Regions from separate parts of the Homo sapiens genome. Here region 2 is linked to region 1. Evidence: promoter capture Hi-C in 16 types of primary human blood cells and fetal thymus (Javierre and others, 2016). All regions are on one chromosome and are shown on one strand. Each heading gives the region's core, a stretch centred on a gene start or on the middle of the fragment in contact. The rest is flanking DNA. Distances are from core to core; before and after follow the strand shown. Region 1 holds the start of RPL27A (ribosomal protein L27a). Region 2 holds the start of BTBD10 (BTB domain containing 10).

Region 1 (5,426 bases), core at 1-2,500:
CATTACCGCGGCCGCCGGGGTGCTTCCGGTGCTTGCCTGCAGGAATACAAAGCTACGTGGGGCCGGTGTGATGGCTCATGCCTGTAATCCCAGCATTTTAGGAGGACGAGGGGGGGTAGATCACCTGAGGTCAGGAGTTCGAGACCAGCCTGGCCAACACGGAGAAACCCCCGACTCTACTAAAAATAGAAAAAGAATTAGCCGGGCGTCGTGGCGCACACCTGTAATATCAGCTACTCGGGAGGCTGAGGCAGGAGAATCGCTTGAGCCCGGCAGGCAGGGGTTGCAGTGAGCCGAGATTTCGCCACTGCACTCCAGCCTGGGCGACAGTGATCAGTCTCACACACACACAAAAAAGCTACATGCACCACACAGCCTTCTCATGCATCTCAATACTTCCTCGCACAAAAGCAGAGTGTTTCCCAGACTTCTGTGTCCCGCTTACGCTGTTCCCACCCTACCGATGCCGGTTTTCAGCAATGCGATTACTTTAGGATTCCGGGTGAAACATCTTTTCAGGTTCCACATCACAGCATTCCCACAGTACTCCATGTCTTCAACTAACCCAATACCGTGCCTGCTCAATTCCTATTACCCCACTGATGTGAAATTCCTTAGAACTGGAATACTAGAGGATCGTCAGAAAAAAATCAACAGCTGTGCAACTTGACCACAAAAAGGTCTTATTCTAACCCACTTATAGGCTACCGATCTCCAGACTAGCTAAGCACCCGAAGAGAGCCCAAGGCCCACCCCGAGGGGAAGCCGGCACTTACCTATGCGGCCGTGGCCGTGGCTCACGTGGCCCCTAAGTTTCCGGGTCTTCCTCAGTCTGGATGGCTGTGTGGAAAAAGCTTGGTGGTAAGGCCTAAGGAATTAGGGGCAGGGGGCGATGCCCGCCAGCCGAGATGGTCCTGTAAGCCTGTGGGTCAAAGACCTAACTTCTGGAGCGTTTGGGAAAGCTGAGGGTACCGATCCGCTCAGGGCCGTGAGGTCTCACCACGGTAGCGCAGGGGCCCGCGTGTCCTAGAGATCCGAACCGCGGGCCTAACACACGGCTCCGGGAGCCCCGCCCCGGGCCCGCGCCGGCCACCCTGCCCCGCAGGCGGCCATGCGCAGCCTGGAAGCCCCGACCATGGTAGGGAGTGGATGACTAGGGGCAATGGGAATACAGCTTAGGGGTCTCCGCCGGCAAGGAAGAGGAGGCAAGAAACGAAACACCTACCATGTTGGCAGCCCAGACGAAAAAGGAAGGCCTTCGCCAAGTCTCGCGAGGTATCGGCCACGGGGGCGGGGCAAAACGCCTCACTTCCGGTCACAGAGGCCGGGCTTCGGGCGGGGCCTCCTGGTCTCGCGGGATTGCGCGCCTGCTAGTCGCTTCCTCTTTCTGAGGGTGGTGATCCCCCATCACGGAGTGTCCTGGTGGCGGTGTACGGTTTCGGTGAGGCTCGTTGTGCTAGGCTCGGAGGGCGAGAACTGTTGAAGAATCGGGGCTAGGTGTGCTGTACTGCACGCCGCCCGTGCTTGCTTGAGCCAGGCCCTTTTCTGGCGCCTTGGTCAGGGAACCGCCTAAGCCGACCCTAAGGGCCTCGTTGTCTGAGCTCCTCACCAAATGCGCCAGCCCTGAGCCGCCCCGCGCACCTCCACAGTTCTTAGTGGTCTGCCCGGGGCTGGTGATAGTGGCTACTGGTTTGTCTCCCGGCCGCAGTGCGGAACCGCGAGGCCCTCTTTAATCCTCAGTGTGCCCACCTGGTGTCTCGCTCGGTTTCCTGAAGCTCGGGCGGCTCCCGAAATGCCTTCTCCCGCTCTCACACTTCTGAGTGGGCACTGCAGCTTCCTTTCTCTTTTGCCCTTTTGCTATCATTTGGTTGTCCTCTCAAGTTTGAGCAACTTAAATTGCTTCAGGGACTTAGATGCCTGGTTGCTTTATGGTCCTTTTAATGCAGATGTTGTAAATACTTTTTCTAAATGCCACATTTAGGCCAGGCGCGGTGGCTCACACCTGTAGTCCCAACACTTTGGGAGGTCGAGGCGGGAGGATTTCTTGAGGCGAGTAGTTCAACACCAGCCTGGGCAACATAGTGAGACCCTCGTCTCCACATACAAAAGTAAATAAGTAAAAATAAATGCTATTTTTGAATTTTCTCCAGAATCTACATAACACGCCTGTGACCCTTTCCTGGACACAATGCAGACAGTTGCTCGCTTCCCCACCTGTACCACCACACAATCTAGTATAACCCTTATGTAATTTATTGACCTACGTTTGTCTTCCCTACTAGACCTAATTCCTTATGTGGTCAAGGACTGTTTTTTTTAATCCACACTCAACTAGTGATTGTTGAGTGAATAAATGAACTTACCCTCACCTCCCTGTCTTCGCTAATAGCAGCATGTCTTCGCTCTTAAGTCGGTTCCTTCAACCAGTGTTCAAGATCCCATCCCCTCGCTAGTCTATTAATAGATCCCATGGGAAAAATGAAATAAATTTTTAAAATCCCATCCCCTCAGTTATTCTCTGTGTGTATGTGTGAGCGTGTATTTATTTATTTTTCTTTGTCTTGCCCCCTTCAGCTAAAATATATTTTAGCTAAAATATCCAAAATTCTGGCCGGGCGTGGTGGCTTACTTCTGTAATCCCAGCACTTTGGAAGGCCGAGGCGGGCGGATCACGAGGTCAGGAGATCGAGACCATCCTGGCTAACACGGTGAAACCCCGTCTCTACTAAAAATACAAAAAATTAGATGGGCGTGGTGGTGGGCGCCTGTAGTCCCAGCTACTCGGGAGGCTGAGGCAGGAGAATGGCGTGAACCCGGGAGGCGGAGCTTGTAGTGAACCGAGATCGCGCCACTGCACTGCAGCCTGGGCGACAGAACGAGACTCCGTCTCAAAAAAAAAAAAAAAAATTCCAAAATTCTCCCATGTCCTTGCCCTTACAGCCAAGCTCCCCAAAAGAGTAGTCTACAAATCCTGCCCATTTGCACCTTCCCATCCATTGTTCACTGCGGTCTAGCTCACAGCCTGTGACTTCAGTGAAATTGCTCTTACTAATGTCATTAATGAACGAATTGCCAAATTGGACTCTTCCTATTCTTCATATCACTTGTTCTTTCTGTTGTACTTTAATCTGTTGGCGTCTTTTTCTAGAAAAAGTCTTGCCTTCCTCCTACTCTTTGGTCACTTTTCAGTCTTCTTTTCAGGTTCTTCCATCCAGCGTTGTCCACCATTTGAATGTTGATGTTCCTCAGCCTTCTGTCCTTGTCCTTATCTTTTCACAGTACATGGTCTTCTTGGGTGGCTTCAATTCACATCCTTATTGCTGAGCTCCACACCCATATGGTCACTTAATTACTGGTTAGTATTCCTTGGACATTCTACAGACAAAGTAAACATATCCAAAGAACTCAATCTGCACTGCTCACTGGTGCCTTCTCCTTTATTCTCTGTCTTGGTGAGTGGCACCATTGTCCACCTAGATAATGAAAATTGTCCCCAAGCCTTCTCTTCTTCTACTACACTGTCACCCTATCCTTTTGTTTCTGTATCTCCCCAATGTGCTTCCTCTGTTTAAGCCTTAGTGCCCTGCCTTCATTCAGGCCCCCATCATATCTCTTAACTGGAGTTTACAACACCTTCCTTTGTTCACTCTGCCTGCATTCTAACCCTCCTCCAATTTCTGTATCCTTCACACCTCCACCACGTTAGTATTCCGAAAACATGACTTTCATTCTTTTACTTGATCAAAAAGTTCGGTAGCTCCTTATGACCAACAGAATATAGCCCACTTGCCTTTCCAGCCTTACCCCAGCCTCTCCCTTACACAAGCTTTCTACTGCAGCCGTGCCTGGTATATCCCATTTGCATTTTTGCCTTTGCTCATGCTGTTTCCCATCCCGGAGTGCCCATCCTCTTCCTGACCACATGTCCTGAATCTTCCTCAACCTTTAAGGCCAACTTTATATTCTGCTTCTTCCCAGAACACTTCAGTCCACAAGGATAACAACCAACATTTTCAGAGCACTTGGCAATTTACAAAATACATCTGCCTGAAGGTACAGCACTACCAGCCTCATTTTACGTGTGTGAAAACTGAAGCACAGAAGAATTGGGTGACTTGTCAGACGCTGCATAGGTGGTCAGGTACAGAGCCTGGGCCTAGCCTTTAGTCTTCTCTCTCCAGATCCCCTGCTTTTACCTCAGTGACCAGTCCCTCTCTGACCTTACAGCATTATGGTCTTCATCCCTCCATCAACCTTAATCACATACTGCATGTGACCAGCAGGAAGAGGGGTCTTGAGAATAGGAGGGGAGATCAAAGAAGACATCGTCGTCTATTTGACATCAAAACTGGCCAGTAAGTGCACAAGAAATGAGCTGGGTTACCTGGAACCTAACCTTGGGAAGATGATCTGTCAATGGAGGTAAGCTGGGCAGGGCCTTGGGAATGAAAGGGAACCATCAGTGGTATTAGAGCTGGGGCCTACAATAAGGACCACCACTGCAAGGGGTTGAGGTAGGGTTCTGGGTGCTAAGACACTCCTCTTGGATAGTTTGCCAGGTTCCTTGGTTATAGAGGAGCTACGTTCTGTCCCTCAGGTCACGCGGCTGAACAGAAGGCCTCCCAGAGTGGACCCAGCACTACCCGTTGGGTTCTGTGTTCACCTAACATTCTTCTCATCAATGGCTTGATCTGGTTGTAGAGGGAGTACCCTGGGTAGTTGTCTGGCTCAATCCAGTTTTCTATCCAGCTCCCTCTCCTTCAAAAGGCAACCACATGACTTAAACACACAGCTCATGTGGTGTTTGTTCAGTGTGTGTCACTTTTCCTAGGTTGACAGAGGTCTGAGAGAGCAGACAAAGCTGAGTTTTCTGTCTGCAAAGTGGAGTAGCAGCCAGATATTTGGCATTAGGGGACCTGTCCCTCCCAGCTAGGCACATGGGACATGACCTTTGGCCATGACTCCTGAGGGGTGTCCTTCTCTGTGACATCTCTTCTGAAGTACAGCATGGCTTTGTGACATCTCAGGCATCTGGGCTTCCTCAGAGTGTGAGGGCCTCAGAAAATACCTCAGAAATGAACGGAAGAGATGATACCAGACAGCAGCCTGGTGAGGCAGGCAAGTGTGCTGATTTTTTGCTGCCCCAGGCCTCTCTCCAGGTGGCCTTGGGAACACATCATCACCCTGAAGAAGGCCCTGGTGATCCCTCTTCCTTTCTCTCCTCACTGGGTTCCTGAATTCGACATCAGTCCTTCAGATAGCAGCAACATCCTGAATGAATCCAGCTCTGTTTTCTTGCTCTCCATCTTTAGATGTGGACATTTGGAAATATGTTCGTTTTCTTTTTTAAGTAGAGCACTGTTAATCAAGATGGGAAGAAGCAGTGTTTCTGCTTTTTTTCCAAGTGAGAATTAGAGAAAAGCTCA
Region 2 (6,534 bases), core at 4,035-6,534, 4.8 Mb before region 1:
AGTGTTAAAAGTGGACTTGCCACCCTGACGGGTAATAGCAAATTCGCTCTTTAGTTATGCCATCGGGTATCATCAGTTCACATAATACAAGGGAGGGCCCTCAGCCGGAAACCCTCAATTGCCAACGAGTATTCAAGCTGGCTCACTGGCAGTCCAAAAACAGAAAAGAACCCTGGCTAGTCCGTCACCCCTAAGGACAGCAACAAAGTATAAGTATCCCTTCTCTAGGGCTTCAGGATCTCAGCCTTGGCCAAGGGCCTTTGGTTCCCAAGTGAAGAACCAGACCACTGAGGGAAGCAGGAGGACAAAGAAGGGAGAAATCTCAGTAAAGTCCCCATATGGTCAAGATGCCAGGCAAGGTGTCAGAGCCCTGGAATTGGGAGGAGTTTGAATCTCAGGTCGGTAAAAAGATCGGCACCAGTATAGGTTTGAAAAAGGAAAGTTTATTAGAATGTGGCAGAGGAGTGCAGTGGGAAGCCTCAGTGAGAGGACTGAGCGTGCTGTGGTGGATTTTTCACTGGAGAATTTGTGGACCTTAAGGCGGGAGCGTATGGAGAATTTATGGACCATAAGGCAGGAGCGTAGGGTTGTAAAATGAGTTTCCACATGGCATTCCAGAGATATATAGGAATTTTAGTTACTTATAAAAGTTGAAAGAGACCTGGAACCACATGCCGACTTTAGCTACCAGGGAAGTTTAATTACTTCTGATTTTCCCTAGATAAGGAGTTTTGCCTCCGGATGGCCTGCTTGATAGTCACCAGGTGGTCTTTGCTCCCTTCTAAATTCCTCAGATAAGGAGTTTTTGTCTCCGGGGCCTGTTCAATGATCACCACGTGATTTTGCTCTCCTCAATGGGTACATGCCTATGTTTGTATATTGTCTACATGGTGCCAAATTGATTTATGAATAAATGAGCACTTATTAAGCAAATAAGCCCAAATGCTTTTGAAGTTCACGTGACTTTAGTAATCACTGGTAATTAAAACTAGTTTTTAAAATGTTGGTAAAATAAAATTAGAATTTCTTCAGAATTGTATTAAATATAATTCAGACATTTTCACCTAGGTCTCTTGGTGAGACATATTTATACTGTTTCCACTAGATGTCTTAAGGTAACAGAGTTTGGTGACCAAACACTGTGGTTAGCACCTATAATCTCAGCACTTTGGGAGGTCAAGGCAGGAGGATGGCTTGAGCCAGGAAGTTTGATAACAGCCTGGGCAACATAGTGAAACTTTGTCTCTATAAAAAAAAAAAAAAAAAAAGACACATACAAAAAAACTGTTGCTTCTGTGAATTTTTTTTCTTTTCTTTCTTTCTTTTTTTTTTTGAGACAGGGTCCTACTCTGTTGCCTGGGCTGGAGTGCAGTGGCACAATCATAGCTCACTACAGCCTTGAACTCCTGTGCTCAAGCAATCCTCCTGCCTCAGCCACCCAAGTAGCTAGAACTACAGGTGTGTGTCACCATGCCTGGCTAATTTTTAAATTTTTTGTAGAGACAGGGTATCCCTATTTTGCCTAGGCTGGCCTCAAAACCTGGACTCAAGTGATGCTTCCACTTTTGCCTCCCAAAATGCTGGGATTATAAGCATAAGTCATATAAGCATAAGCTTATAATGGCCATGCTATGCCTGGCCATTTCTGTGATATTTTTGATGTTTGATTTGTCTTGGAGCCAAAGCTCTGAGGGCTGGCTGTTGGGCTTCCCTGAAGCCTTGAACACATCTTACTGTGAGCTTATATCTTTGGTTTGAGCCTTTAGATTCTGGGATCTAGACAAGTGGCCCTGGTGAAGCCTGAAGACATACATATGTCCACAGTGTCTAGGCTGTCAGGTGTAGGGCAAACCCAACGTATCCTCCCTGGCCAAGCTATGCCTCCTGGTTATGTTGGGTAGGGTCGGACCCTCCAGGCATCCTCTTCATAGCTCTGCCCTCTCTCCTAAGCTCTAGACCTGGTATGTAAATTCAGGACCCAGATGAGCTCCACCCTTTACAGCCATCCTCGTTGCCATGTGGGTACTTGGGACCCAGGATGACTGGGGAAGACATTAGAGAGAATTCCTGTGTTATTTTAAAGTTATGCTGTATTAAATTAATAGATAAGCATAAGATGTCAGAGTCACTTCTAAGTTAAAATACTGAAATATTATTTCTAAGTTAAAATACTGAACTATTAATCTCTAAACATAAGTTTAAGTTTGTATATTTTAGCATCTTGTTTTTATGTGGTATAGAAAAACTAATTATATTTATATGTTAATTAAAAAATTTATCTACAACTACTGATATAAAACAGTTTGAAATTACTTTCTAGGTTTTTCACTAGAAATTAAGGTTACTAAGAGTTAAAATTGTAATTAACAAATGTAATTAAAATTACTAGATATAAGAGAAACAATTGTGTATACAGAGTGTATAAGAAAAATAGGATGAATTTTTGGTAGAAAGGATTATGAAGGAGGCATGAGAATATGTTTTTTTGTTAAAAAGAAAGTAATTTTGTCCAGAGGTTTTTAAAGGTTGTTTTAAGTTGAAGAGATTTAAAAAACGATAAAACTGAATGGATATAGAAAATTGAGGAAAGAAAGAAAATTGAAAAAAATTATGAGTTTATAAAATGTTTATAGAAATGTTGTGTGGTGAAAGCTGATTGAGATGAGATGAATTAGCATTTCCATTGTGTATACTACCCTCAGTCTTCCAGACTGGTGGGATGCACAAATGGAAAATACAAAATCAATTGGCAAAGCTTACAGAAACGTCTTACCTTCCTTGGCCTAAGACTCTTTCATTTGCTTAGCTTAAATTCTACCCTGCTTGGAATACATCAGCTCTCTCCCATTGAAGTGATAATGAGAAGGCCCATGCCCCTGAAAAAAGGAGCTTACAAGCTAGCTCTCCTTAAAGGTGGTGTTCTTAAAAAAAAAAAAAAAGAAAAAGAAAAAATAAAAATAAGTAATCTTATGTCTGGGTGCGGTGGCTCACGCCTGTAATCCCGGCACTTTGGGAGGCCAAGGCAGGTGGATCACCTGAGGTCAGGAGTTCGAGACCAGCCTGGCCAGCACAGTGAAACCCCCATCTCTACTAAAAATACAAAAATTTAGGCGGGCGTGGTGGCACATGCCTGTAATCCCAGCTACTCGGGATGCTGAGGCAGGAGAATTGCTTGAACCAGGGAGGCAGAGGTTGCAGTGAGCCAAGATTGCACTACTGCACTCCAGCCCGGGCAACAGAGCGAGACTCCATCTCAAAAAAGAAAAAAAAAAAAGAGTAATCTTCATCTCTGTCCTCCCATAACACACTATTTCTATCTTTGACCTAACTTGTTTTCCTTTTGTTATTTAATTATACATCTCATTTTGTCAGAATATGTATAATACTATCTGTATCTCTTAGTATTTTTATTTTTTTCAGTTTTGTAGAGAAGTCTTGCTATGTTGCCCAGGCTAGTCTCGAACTCCTGTCAAGTGATCCTCCCGCCTCCCAAAGTGCTGAGATTATAGGCACGTGCCACAGTGCCCAGCTCTTCTGGTATTCTTACACAGGGGCTTGATTAATAAATGTATTTGCTGAATAGGGATCGAGTTATTTTTGCGTGTATGTGATTTTCCTGTTCCTGCCATTAGATGGCAGTGCTCAAACTTAGTAGTACAAAGAAATTCCAGGTTTTAAAAATTAAATAGGATTCTGGGTCTGTGGTCTTATCTGCTTTGAAACAATATTGCCTTAGCATGCTATAACACAAACTACCAAACGACCTTGTTTGTTCACTGCTACTATATGAAACTTCTCTTTCTGTATGGACCTCTTTGGTGTGTGGAAGAAAGACTTTCATTAAAGTTCTGAACCTTAGCCTATGCAGTCAGCTAGCATTTACAAATTATCGTGTAGAGCAGATTTGTGATTATCTAAATCTATGGCATTACCTACCAAATGTATAACTGTTACCAGTGCTACTGTGCTACTACCTTAATATTTGAAAGGTTAATTATCTCTTTTTTTTTTTTTGAAACGGAGTCTCGCTCTGTCGCCCAGGCTGGAGTGCAGTGGCACAAGCTCTGCTCACTGCAAGCTCCGCTTCCCGGATTCACACCATTCTCCTGCCTCAGCCTCCCAAGTAGCTGGGACCACAAGCGCCTGCCACCACCCCCGGGTAATTTTCTGTATTTTTAGTAGAGACGGGGTTTCACCATGTTAGCCAGGATGGTCTGGATCTCCTGACCCCGTGATCTGCCCGCCTCGACCTTTCAAAATGCTGGGATTACAGGCGCGAGCCTCCGAACCCGGCCGATTAATTTTCTTTTAAAGCAAAGAACAGTAGAAACTTTATTCGATTTTCTATTTTCTCCCAACTCCCATTCTCTTTTGTTTTTGAAGAACAGCAGAATGAAATGAGCTCCAGGACCCATCCAAGTAGGATATGATGGTTTGAACAGATTCCAGCATGGAACAAAGTTTCCATATTTTGCCTGAAGTCTTTCATTCATATGATTCTTCTAATGCTTCCTGGAAAATTCCAAGAACTTGATGTGAAATTATGCTTAACAGAACACCCAATTGGCCTATGGCAGGTGCATTAGTCCATTCTTGCACTGCTATAAAACAAAGAGGTTTAACTGGCTCACGGCTCCGCAGGCTGTACAGGAAGTCCGACGGCTTCTGCTGGGCTTCTGGGGAGGCCTCAGGAAGCTTACAATCATGGCAGAAAGCCAAGGTACAGCAGGCACGTCTTATATGGTGGGAGGAGTGGGGCGGGGGTGGGGGGGCGCCACACACTTTTAAAGAACAGATTTCACCAGAACTCACTATCACCAGAATGGCAAAAACAGGGAAATCTGCCCCCATGATCCAACGACCTCCAACACTGGGGATTACAATTCCACATGAGAGGTCAGGTGGGGACATAGATCCAAACCGTATCAGCAGGGTTAGAATAACTTTTTTGTTTTCCTCCTAAGTGTTGGGCTTATTCGTAGGGAGAGTATGGTAAGCCAAATAAAACTATAGTATACATAGTATTTTTCATATAGTATACATATTTTTATATGTAATATGAAAATAATGTGTCCAAAGGAAGGTGAGTGGAAACTACAGCAAAATACCAGAGTCTTTCTTTAGAAAAGGACAGCTTCTATTTTGATGTAAGAGTATGGCTCCTCATTAGCCCTAACTTGGACTACAGAATGACTTCTTCTGAGCAGAGCTTATAGGAGAAAATTTTGATAATAAATCAGGACTGATGACGTTTTTGTTTTTTGCCTGAGAATTTTCTCAGAGTTTCTCTGAGAAACTGTATCACAAAATTCCTATTAGATTGCTCTTATGTAGACAACTTGAAATTATTGGCAATTTCCAATTTAGCAAAATGTTGGCTATAATAACTTAGTGAATTACGACAATAACCCGTTTCTCTTAGGTTTCTGATATTTAAGTGTCCTTACAGGAGAAAGATGAAGTTATCTTATAATTGTCCAGCTCAACTGCTCATCTTCTTAGCATAAACACTGATTTGGAAAATACTTTGCGTATCACACGTAGGAGCCTGGGAATGTTCTCATCCGAACTAAACAGTGGTTAAAGGTTTTTCAACAAAGTTCTTGCTGCAATATCTGTTTTCATACCCAATTACTCAAACCAGGTCCTCTTCCTCTTTGCTTCCTCTCCTTGCAATGCCCTTCCCTCTCTTCCCTAAACTGGAGAACTTACTTATGCTTAAGATTCAGCGCAATTGTCACTCCCAGGTGAAGGCTTTCTCAACAAGGCCTCCCCGTCTGCTCCCAGAGCTCATGGCAAGCAGCTCGGCTTTTATCAGAGAATAATGGGATTATCTATTTTCCTGTAGGTCTTGCCCCGGGGGTGTAAGCTTCGAAGGCGGAGACTGTGTCTTTTACATTTTTTCCCGTTTTTATTGCCCAGCCAGCCCATGTAGGTGACTCTCGGTGTTTCCTAGGCGGCCAAACTGAAGGAGTTTCAGCTGGCACAGGGGTTCCCGCCAACCGAGCGTTTAAAAATAAGCAGCGGGGGACGTTAGGGAACAGAGGGTGTCCCTCACGACGACCGACTCTCATCAGGTCCACGCCGGCAGAAGCGATTTTGCAGTTTGCTTTGATGAGGAAAACGCTCTCCCTGAAGAGTCCCTGCACTATTTCTCCAACTCTGTGACCGAGACGCTGTCCACTTTTCTCTAACGGTGACAGGAAGTCAAGGGGAAAACGTGGGATTCAAAGGTTTGAAGGTAACAGCCCTCAGCCACTCGGGCTCGAGGCCCGCGGTTGACCCGAGCTGATGTCTGTGAGGAGAGGTCGCGCGGCGCCTTCCTCTCCACGCGCCTGAGATCCCACCCGTGGCCGCCGCGCCCTCAACTGCCTTCTCCTTCGGTGCCCCGCCCACCCCTGGGCGGAGAGCACCGTTCTCGCGAGAACGCTGCTGGCCTCGCCTCTTCGCATTGTGAGCTCTCGCGGTAAGAGGCTGAGGAGCCGGCCTGCAACCTGCCGGGGCGGCTCCGCTACGCGCAGCCGCCTCAGTGGC

The links. The method cuts DNA at HindIII sites, captures the fragments that hold promoters and counts their contacts. A CHiCAGO score of 5 or more calls a contact.
Region 2: a contact is called between a fragment that was not itself captured here and the fragment with the promoter of RPL27A in region 1, in 1 of 17 cell types (fetal thymus). The highest score is 5.8, in fetal thymus.

The regions. Positions count from the first base shown.
Region 1 is chr11:8,678,616-8,684,041 of GRCh38, reverse strand. It overlaps RPL27A (ribosomal protein L27a), which reads right to left and starts at 1,250. Exons shown (of 5, transcript NM_000990.5): 1 at 1,226-1,250; 2 at 777-840; 3 at 1-36. The coding sequence starts at 1,228. It overlaps TRIM66 (tripartite motif containing 66), which reads left to right and starts at 1,377. Exons shown (of 25, transcript NM_001388022.1): 1 at 1,377-1,441; 2 at 3,979-4,141; 3 at 4,228-4,422. RefSeq lists enhancers at 329-971, 1,298-1,487, 1,688-1,757, 621-1,820 and a silencer at 978-1,177. The HindIII fragment of the contact is 2,972 bases long and covers 857-3,828 here.
Region 2 is chr11:13,463,206-13,469,739 of GRCh38, reverse strand. BTBD10 (BTB domain containing 10) reads left to right here and starts at 6,518. Exons shown (of 9, transcript NM_032320.7): 1 at 6,518-6,534. RefSeq lists an enhancer at 6,149-6,338. The HindIII fragment of the contact is 1,174 bases long and covers 4,698-5,871 here.